Linked DNA regions of Homo sapiens: region 1 is linked to region 2. The links are contacts of gene promoters, found by promoter capture Hi-C in human tissues and cell types (Jung and others, 2019). All regions are on one chromosome and are shown on one strand. Each heading gives the region's core, a stretch centred on a gene start or on the middle of the fragment in contact. The rest is flanking DNA. Distances are from core to core; before and after follow the strand shown. Region 1 overlaps AFDN (afadin, adherens junction formation factor). Region 2 holds the start of FRMD1 (FERM domain containing 1).

What was found. The method cuts DNA at HindIII sites, captures the fragments that hold promoters and counts their contacts. A contact is called where the count stands out against the background at its distance.
Region 1: a contact is called between a fragment that was not itself captured here and the fragment with the promoter of FRMD1 in region 2, in 3 of the 25 tissues and cell types used here (mesenchymal stem cells, small bowel and thymus).

The regions. Positions count from the first base shown.
Region 1 is chr6:167,969,403-167,973,177 of GRCh38, forward strand. AFDN (afadin, adherens junction formation factor) reads left to right here. Exons shown (of 34, transcript NM_001386888.1): 34 at 380-2,621. The coding sequence ends at 533. Among named protein-coding and RNA genes, the nearest start is that of HGC6.3, 8.5 kb to the right of the region's middle. The HindIII fragment of the contact is 5,402 bases long and covers 1-3,775 here.
Region 2 is chr6:168,076,952-168,080,742 of GRCh38, forward strand. FRMD1 (FERM domain containing 1) reads right to left here and starts at 2,261. Exons shown (of 11, transcript NM_024919.6): 1 at 1,931-2,261. The coding sequence starts at 2,143. RefSeq lists an enhancer at 1,252-1,973. The HindIII fragment of the contact is 22,554 bases long and covers 1-3,791 here.

The DNA.
Region 1 (3,775 bases), core at 577-3,076, 110 kb before region 2:
ACTTATTATTAAATTTGGCATATTTATAGATGCCTCTCAGGTACATGTAAGATGCCTTAAAATGCTGTATTTTAAAACTGTACCCCTCAGGTTACACTTAACTGGTAAGAGTCACCTGCTTGCTAAAATCTAACTTACAAGTTTTTTGAGAGTTGACTATGACTGGGAAAAGTTAATGTTGTAGCCAAGAGAACATGTTGCCCTTTTTTTCTAGATGGGTTTAAATACAGCCCCTGTGATTTCGATTATAAGAAAGGTTATAGCACAATTTAACAAAGAATGAGTGAAAATTTTAATCGCCCATTTTGCAAACGTGTGTAATTGTTGACAGGTTGTTTCTAGTTTGTCCAGTAATCTTTGATATTGCCCTCTTCTGCAGCCAAGATGCAGATTCACCTGGAAGTTCTGGGGCCCCTGAAAACTTGACATTCAAGGAACGCCAGCGTCTTTTTTCACAAGGTCAAGATGTATCCAATAAAGTGAAAGCTTCTCGTAAATTAACAGAACTGGAGAATGAACTGAACACAAAGTGAAAGAAAATGAGGAGAACACTTTGTATTTACCCCAAAATCTTTTCAGTTGTGGGTTTGTAGGTGCGAGTTTGAAGAGGAAAAGAGGAAGGGGGTTATATTTCTAAGTGATTTACAATTTCTGTTTCTAAAATTGTTGGGATTTAGAAATGTTTCAATTCCAAGAAATTTTATTTTACTTTACCATGAGATTGCCATTTATGTAATTTAAACACTGTCTAGTTTCTTAATTATCTAACTCACACGAGGGTAAGTTTTTTGTTGGTTTCTTTTTTGGAGTCCTGAGTTCAAAGGGGACAGAACTAAGGGCAGGAGAAGAGAATGGATGTGTCTTCTCTCCCATCTTCCCCTCATCATCGACCGAGGAGCACAAAGAAGTTCTGTTTCTGTTTTTTTCAGAAACTTTATTTTAGCTGTCAAGCAGAGAATAGCTTGAACTATTCAGACTATTGTTGGCACTGTTTAGTAGTGACCACACGCTCTTCTACCCGGGAAGGAACATATGACGACATGCTCCTCCCATGTCCCCTGATGGTGTCTGTTCCCACAATATCCTTCTAGTCTGCATCGTGAAGTGGCTTAGGCCAAAGCTTCCTGTGTGATGACGCACGTCCGAGACTGTTCCATCTCATTCCTCGCAAATTTGAGCTCTTCTGATCAATTCTAAATATTTGATTAATTTTAATTCTGAAAGAAAATTTTGAGGATTTAAGCTTAGGGGATTTTATTTTTATAAATACCAGATTATTGTTAGACTTAATAAATCACTGTTAAATTTAAAGATGACAGTTACCTTGGAAAGTTCACTAATACTTCGCTCCAAGGCGTCTGTAAAAGAAGATATCTTTATTGGAGCAATGTTCATGTGACTGGGAATGACAGAAGAATGGGAGATGAGTAGGGACCCCTCAAGCACAGCTGTCACTCAGAAATTTTAAATTTGAAAAAGAAATCGATTTTCATCTGTATGCCGTCAAGGAAGGAATTCAGTTACAGGGCATCTGTAACTTAAATATTGTAAGAATAACTCATATGGAAGTTCAAGCTATTTTTATACTATAATAGAGTTATTTAATTTTAATTTGTTGAATTATTAGTTACCACTGTCATTTCTTCAGCTATGGATATGTGGCTGATGTTGGGGAGACGGACCTCAGTGTGTTTTATATTGTCTGGTGTTAAGATGATAAATTACTTTGTGATTACAAGCAAATTTTCTATTTGACAAAGCCCTTGGTGGAGTCCAAATGATTTTTCTGTACCATATTGTTCTCTTACACATACGTATGTTAGGAAAATAGGCACACTTTCAAAGAGAATGTTCTCTTACACATACGTATGTTAGGAAAATAGACACATTTTCAAAGAGAATGTTCTCTTACATATGTTAGGAAAATAGGCACACTTTCAAAGAGAGGTATAGGGGCTTTTTACTGCCTTCGAAATCACTTTTAATAAAAGTTGTATGATAAATCATTAAAAATGCGAGTGTAAATATTTTTTTTTACCTCTATCAGGGTTTTTATTTGAAAGTGTGCTCTTACCATTTCCTTGTTTGAGTAAGAGAGTGAATGGTTCTGAGTGTTTAGGAAGGATTTGCTTGCTTGCAGCAGAAGTTCTAGGAAAAGCAGGCACCTCCCAAATATCTTGAGGACACTGGCAGCCTTATGGTGACTAAATCCACACTTTCTTTAAAGAGATGCAGATGAATTACTTTTCTGTTAATATATAGAAAAATACACAGGAGAACATGCAGATACATGTAAATATCTACATACAGGGATATTTGTATGTGTGGTTGTGAAACCCATACACAAGTGGATTTGGCCATCTTTGGGCAGTGAGGTCAAATGTGAATATGTGTAAAAGTGCTTTTCAGAACTGCATTACTATGAGAAAACATCAAAACTGCTGTAGTTTTCCATTTCTACTGTATTTCAGTTGCAACCTATTTTTAATAAACTTTGTATGTATTTAAGTGTATTTGCTATTGTTTTGAAAGTGCTGACAAAGTTTATATTTGTAACATCAGCCTTCCTCGCCCATCTCTTTCCATCTGTCTCTTCTTCATTAAACACTTACTGAGTATGATTTCTGTGTCAGGCAGTGGTTTTCATTTGTGGGGACGTGTCGTGTGCCTCGTCACACAGCTCACGGGTGGTGTCTGAGTCTCATAAGCCGTTCTGCTGCCCAGGCCTTCCTGATGCTTCCTTGATCCCAGCAAGCTTAGGTGGGCATTCGAGCCATTTCTCAGTGACACTGTCTCTTGGTGGCCCCTTTGAAATAAAATATCCGTAGTAATAAGTAAATGGTGTACATAAGGCATCCTGGTGAGAAGCGTCCTAGTGCAAGAACCCACTCGGGACGGCCTCGTGTAAAAGGGTGTGTTTGATTGTAAAACTACACAAGTCACATTGTGAGGACCTGGGAGCTGCGGGAGGCCTGGGCATGTGCGGGCGGGACCTTCTGTGTGGACAGGGCTCAGCGCTGCCTCTGCGCCATCTCCTGCCTCTGCCTATTTCCAGTGGACCTTTTAATGGCCTGTGAGCAGGGGGATGGGACAGGGCAGGGATGGAGAATTTTTAGAGCTTTCATGGGGGGAGAAAAGGATGGGAAGTTGTTGGTTGAAGGATGCAAAGTTTCAGATAGACAAAAGGAATAGGTTTTCAGATCCATGTGCTGCACAGCAGGGTGACTGTAGTCCATGTATTGTAAAAATAAGGACGTTCATGAAGGAAGGAGTGTGTCTTAGGGTTGTAGAAACTTGTGGAGACCTTTTTGATAGAACGAGATGTTTGTGTATTAGAACTATAGTATTCACTTTTACTATATTTTAATGCTTGAAAGGGGACTTTAATGTTTGGGAATACAAAAACTTAGGAAGTCTGAGTATTATTACAGATTCCTTTTTCTCCTCAAGCCTTGTGTTTCTGTTGCTGTCAGTGGAAATAATGGTACTGCCCTACAGTGGTCTGTCATACGGACCAGCAAGCACTTGATCATTTTCTGGTGTGCGCCGTTGGACACAATTTCCTCTATCCTTTATTGAGTGGAAAACTGATTTCAAAGATTTAGTTATATTTAGTAAACATTAAGCAAAATTTAATTCGAGTGACTTGGAGGAGGGAAAGGATGTACAAAAAGTGATAGTTTTGTTATTTCCAGTATTTCATCCAGTTTATTCCAAAAATCACATAACCTCAAAAGAGACATACTAGACTTGAGATTGGGAATTGAAGCTAGTT
Region 2 (3,791 bases), core at 1,011-3,510:
ATAGAGGGTTCCTGTCCAACTGTAGATACGGATGCGTGCACACCCCAACAGAGGGTTCCTGTCCAACTGCAGACACAGATGCATGCACACCCCAACAGAGGGTTCCTCTCCTACTGCAGACTCAGATGCATGCACACCCCAACAGAGGGTTGCTGTCCTACTGCAGACAGAGATGTGTGCACACACCAACAGAGGGTTCCTCTCCTACTGCAGACACAGATGCATGCACATCTGATAGAGGGTTCCTCTCCTACTGCAGACACAGATGTGTGCACACCTCAATAGGGGGTTTCTGTCCAACTGCAGACACAGATGTGCACACACTCCGATGGGGGGGGGTTCTTGTCTAACTGCAGACATAGACGACTGCAAACCCCAATGAGGGGTTCCTGTCCAACTGCAGACACAGATGTGCACACACCCTGTGGGGGGGTTCCTGTCTAACTGCAGACATAGATGACTGCACAACCCAGTGAGGGGTTCCTGTCCAACTGCAGACACAGATGTGCACACACCCTGTGGGGGGGTTCCTGTCTAACTGCAGACATAGATGACTGCACAACCCAGTGAGGGGTTCCTGTCCAACTGCAGACACAGATGTGCGCACACCCCGATAGGAAGTGGCTCTGTGGTTGCCAACTTGCCAGGCCCAGCAGGGGCCACAGGAGTTGCAGAGGCACTTCAGGGAGCTCCGTCAAAAGCAGATGAGCACGATTCACCTGTTCAGAACAGGCGGTTCACTATGTTCTAGCTGCATGATCCCTCAGTTAAAATCTTACCGTGAAGTTCCGTGCAAGAAACCTAAAAGTTCCAGCTCTTATGGGGTAGGGGGCCAAAGCCCCAGCATCTTCCCCACAACAGGTCCTCTTATGACCCCTCCCCCAGCCCGAGGCACTGCTGGGGACCCCAGGAAACTACAGGACATCCCCCATTAGCTCAACTCCAGCTTCTCGTTGCTGGGTGGGGACACAGAGTCTTGGGGAAGATTTTGCCACAAACATAGATGTGGGCGTTTACGTAAACACAGAACTCTATCCCGAAGCAGACAAGAGACTCCCAGATTCCCAGGGGACTTGAACCAGGATATTACTAGCAAGTCATACTCCATTCCAGGTAGCAATGATACATTAGCTATGCAGAAAGTCATCGTTCTTCAACAAACCACTCTCATTTTAATTGCCACATTTTCATTATCCACATTAATCATTAAAATGAAAGTACCATCTCAACTCCTGTCGCCATGAACTCAACTAAAACAGGTAGACAAAATGGGGGAAAGGGAAAAGAAAAGGAAATAGAGAAGCATAGAGATGGTGACGTCTGAACACAAGACAGGAGCTGCTCCTTGGAAACCGGCTTCCTGGCGCTCTTCCCTCAGCGCTCCCTCCCGGGAAGGATGTGCTGAACCATAAACTTATTTCTCACAGCAACGTCTATCAGGGATGTTTCCTTCACAGGCCCAGTGAAAGGGCTGGCCCTTGACACCTCACAGACACCTGGCCTAAGCAGAGTGAGGCGGTCCAGGGACTTTCCATACACAGGCTGTGTCCTGAGGCTCTGCTCACCCCATACCCCTGCTCACCCCCACGGCCCTGCTCACCCCCACGGCTCTGCTCACCCTCACAGCCCTGCTCACCCCCACGGCTCTGCTCACCCTCACGGCCCTGCTCACCCCCACAGCCTTGCTCACCCCCACGGCCACCCAGGGCCCTGCTCACCCCCATGGCTCTGCTCACCCCCACAGCCCTGCTCACCCCTATGGCCACCCAGGGCCCTCCTCACCCCCATGGCTCTGTTTACTCCCAAGGCCATCCAGGGCCCTGCTCACCCCCACGGCCACCCAGGGCCCTGCTCACCCCCACGGCCACCCGGAGCCCTGCTCACCCCCACAGCTCTGTTTACCCCCACGGCCACCCAGGGCCCTGCTCACCCCCACGGCCAGCCGCAGTTGCTCCCGGCTGGGCAGCAGCACGAGGACATCCCTGTGTTCCGAGGCCATCGCGTCCATTCCCAGGGTCGGCTCCTGCTGACTGCATGCAGGCCTCTCAGGACTGGGTTCCATACATCGCGCCCCTGAAGGAGGGAACGTGTCAGGGTTTGTCCGGGCGGGGTCTATGCCCCTCCCTCTCGGGGGCACCGCCATGCTGTCGTTACTCGGCCCTCCCCCGCCATGGGTCGCAGGTGGGTGCTCAGCACCTCCCAGATCACAGCTGTGCTTTCCGGGACCCGCCCTTGCCGAGCTTCTCACTGGGAAGGGAATTGAGAGGGAAGCCTGGGCTGGGAATCCAGCATGGCCAAGCCAGGACAAGGGTCAGAGCTGCAAATAGCTGGGTGTGTGGAGGGCGCCAGGAATGCAAATAAACAACCTCAGGCTGGGCACCCGCCATGCAGCACTCCCATGCAGGGTAGCTCAGCAGCCAGCCTCGGTGTGGGCCCCGTGAGAACCAGGCTGGGGGAGACAGGACCCAACTCCTCCACCTGACAACCCCTATCTCCTCAGGGTGCCTGCTCCTTCTTCTATAATGTGGAGAGGGCTATGCAAACCCCATGGGCACAGATGCCAGAGCCAGGGCTGCTGGGGAAGATGGAGCAGCAGCAGGGCAGGACGAGGAGGGCGGGAGGAAGGCAGCCTGGGTGGGCACCCTGCCCCACACACCTCCTGTGGCATCTGTTATCGACCTCAGGAAGCAGCACAGCTGCCGTTCCTGGACAGGTTCTGCCAGGAGGGACCCTGGCTCCCTTTAGGGGCTGGAAACTGAGGACACTTCCTTCCTTGTCCAGGGCCAGCAAATCCCTTCCTGCCTGCAGCAGCTGGAAGGCCAGGAAGGGGGTCCTGGCTTGCGTGGACAGCAGCCGGGTGCATCAGCACGAGGGGTGGGGACATCTCCCGCAGGGCCTGGAACCCCTGAGGCCGCTCAGCAGAGATGAGCAACGCCTTCGAGCTCTTTGGCACAGTGTTAGGTGGGGAAGGGACCCCAGGATCCTGCCTGGCCCTGGGACCACCCAGACCTTTGGGCGCTGCAGGTCAGGAGAGGCAGTTCCCACGGGCCTGGGCTGTGGAATTCTGTCCTCAGCCGTGAGCTCCATCAGTTTCCTGCCATGGAGTCTGGGATGCTCTGGGACCTTCCTCTAGTAAGGGGTCTGGACCTCCGGACGGGCCGTTGTTCATCTTAGGAAATTCGCACTCCAGCCGCCTTAAGGCCTGGCCCGGTGGGTTTAGGAAATTCGCACTCCAGCCGCCCTAAGGCCCGGCCCGGTGGGTTGAGAAGATTTAGGAGGCTTAGGCCTCACCTCCCCCGGACCCTGGACTGACACTGGCTCCCTCCCTCCCTCCCTCCGCTCAGATCCAGACCCTTCCCAGACCCTCGAGGCCACACATGTGTGCCCAAGACAGCAGTGGCGGTCTCTTTTCTCTCCACAGCAAACGTAGAGCTGTTCACTATGGAAGATGTGGGGATCCCTTTAGCTGAGAGCACAAAAAGTTTTAAAAATGGCAAAAAAACCACAAAAAAAAACAGCCCCAGAGAGCAGAGGCTGGATCCTCATGGCCCTGTGCCACTGGCGCCTGAGCAGCTCGTCCCTGTGCCGGGTGCCCTCAGCCGCTGCCTGGAGTCACAGTGCCGGCGTATCAGGAAGGGCGGCAGCAGCTGCACCTCTCAGGATGCCTGGGCGCAGGACAGTGGCAGAGGGCAGGCAGGGGCCAGGGTTGGGGGGTGGCAGAACACCACCGGCACACACAGCACAGAGGGGACAACAGGCACCAGGACCCCTCGGTGGGGAGAGCCGGGGAC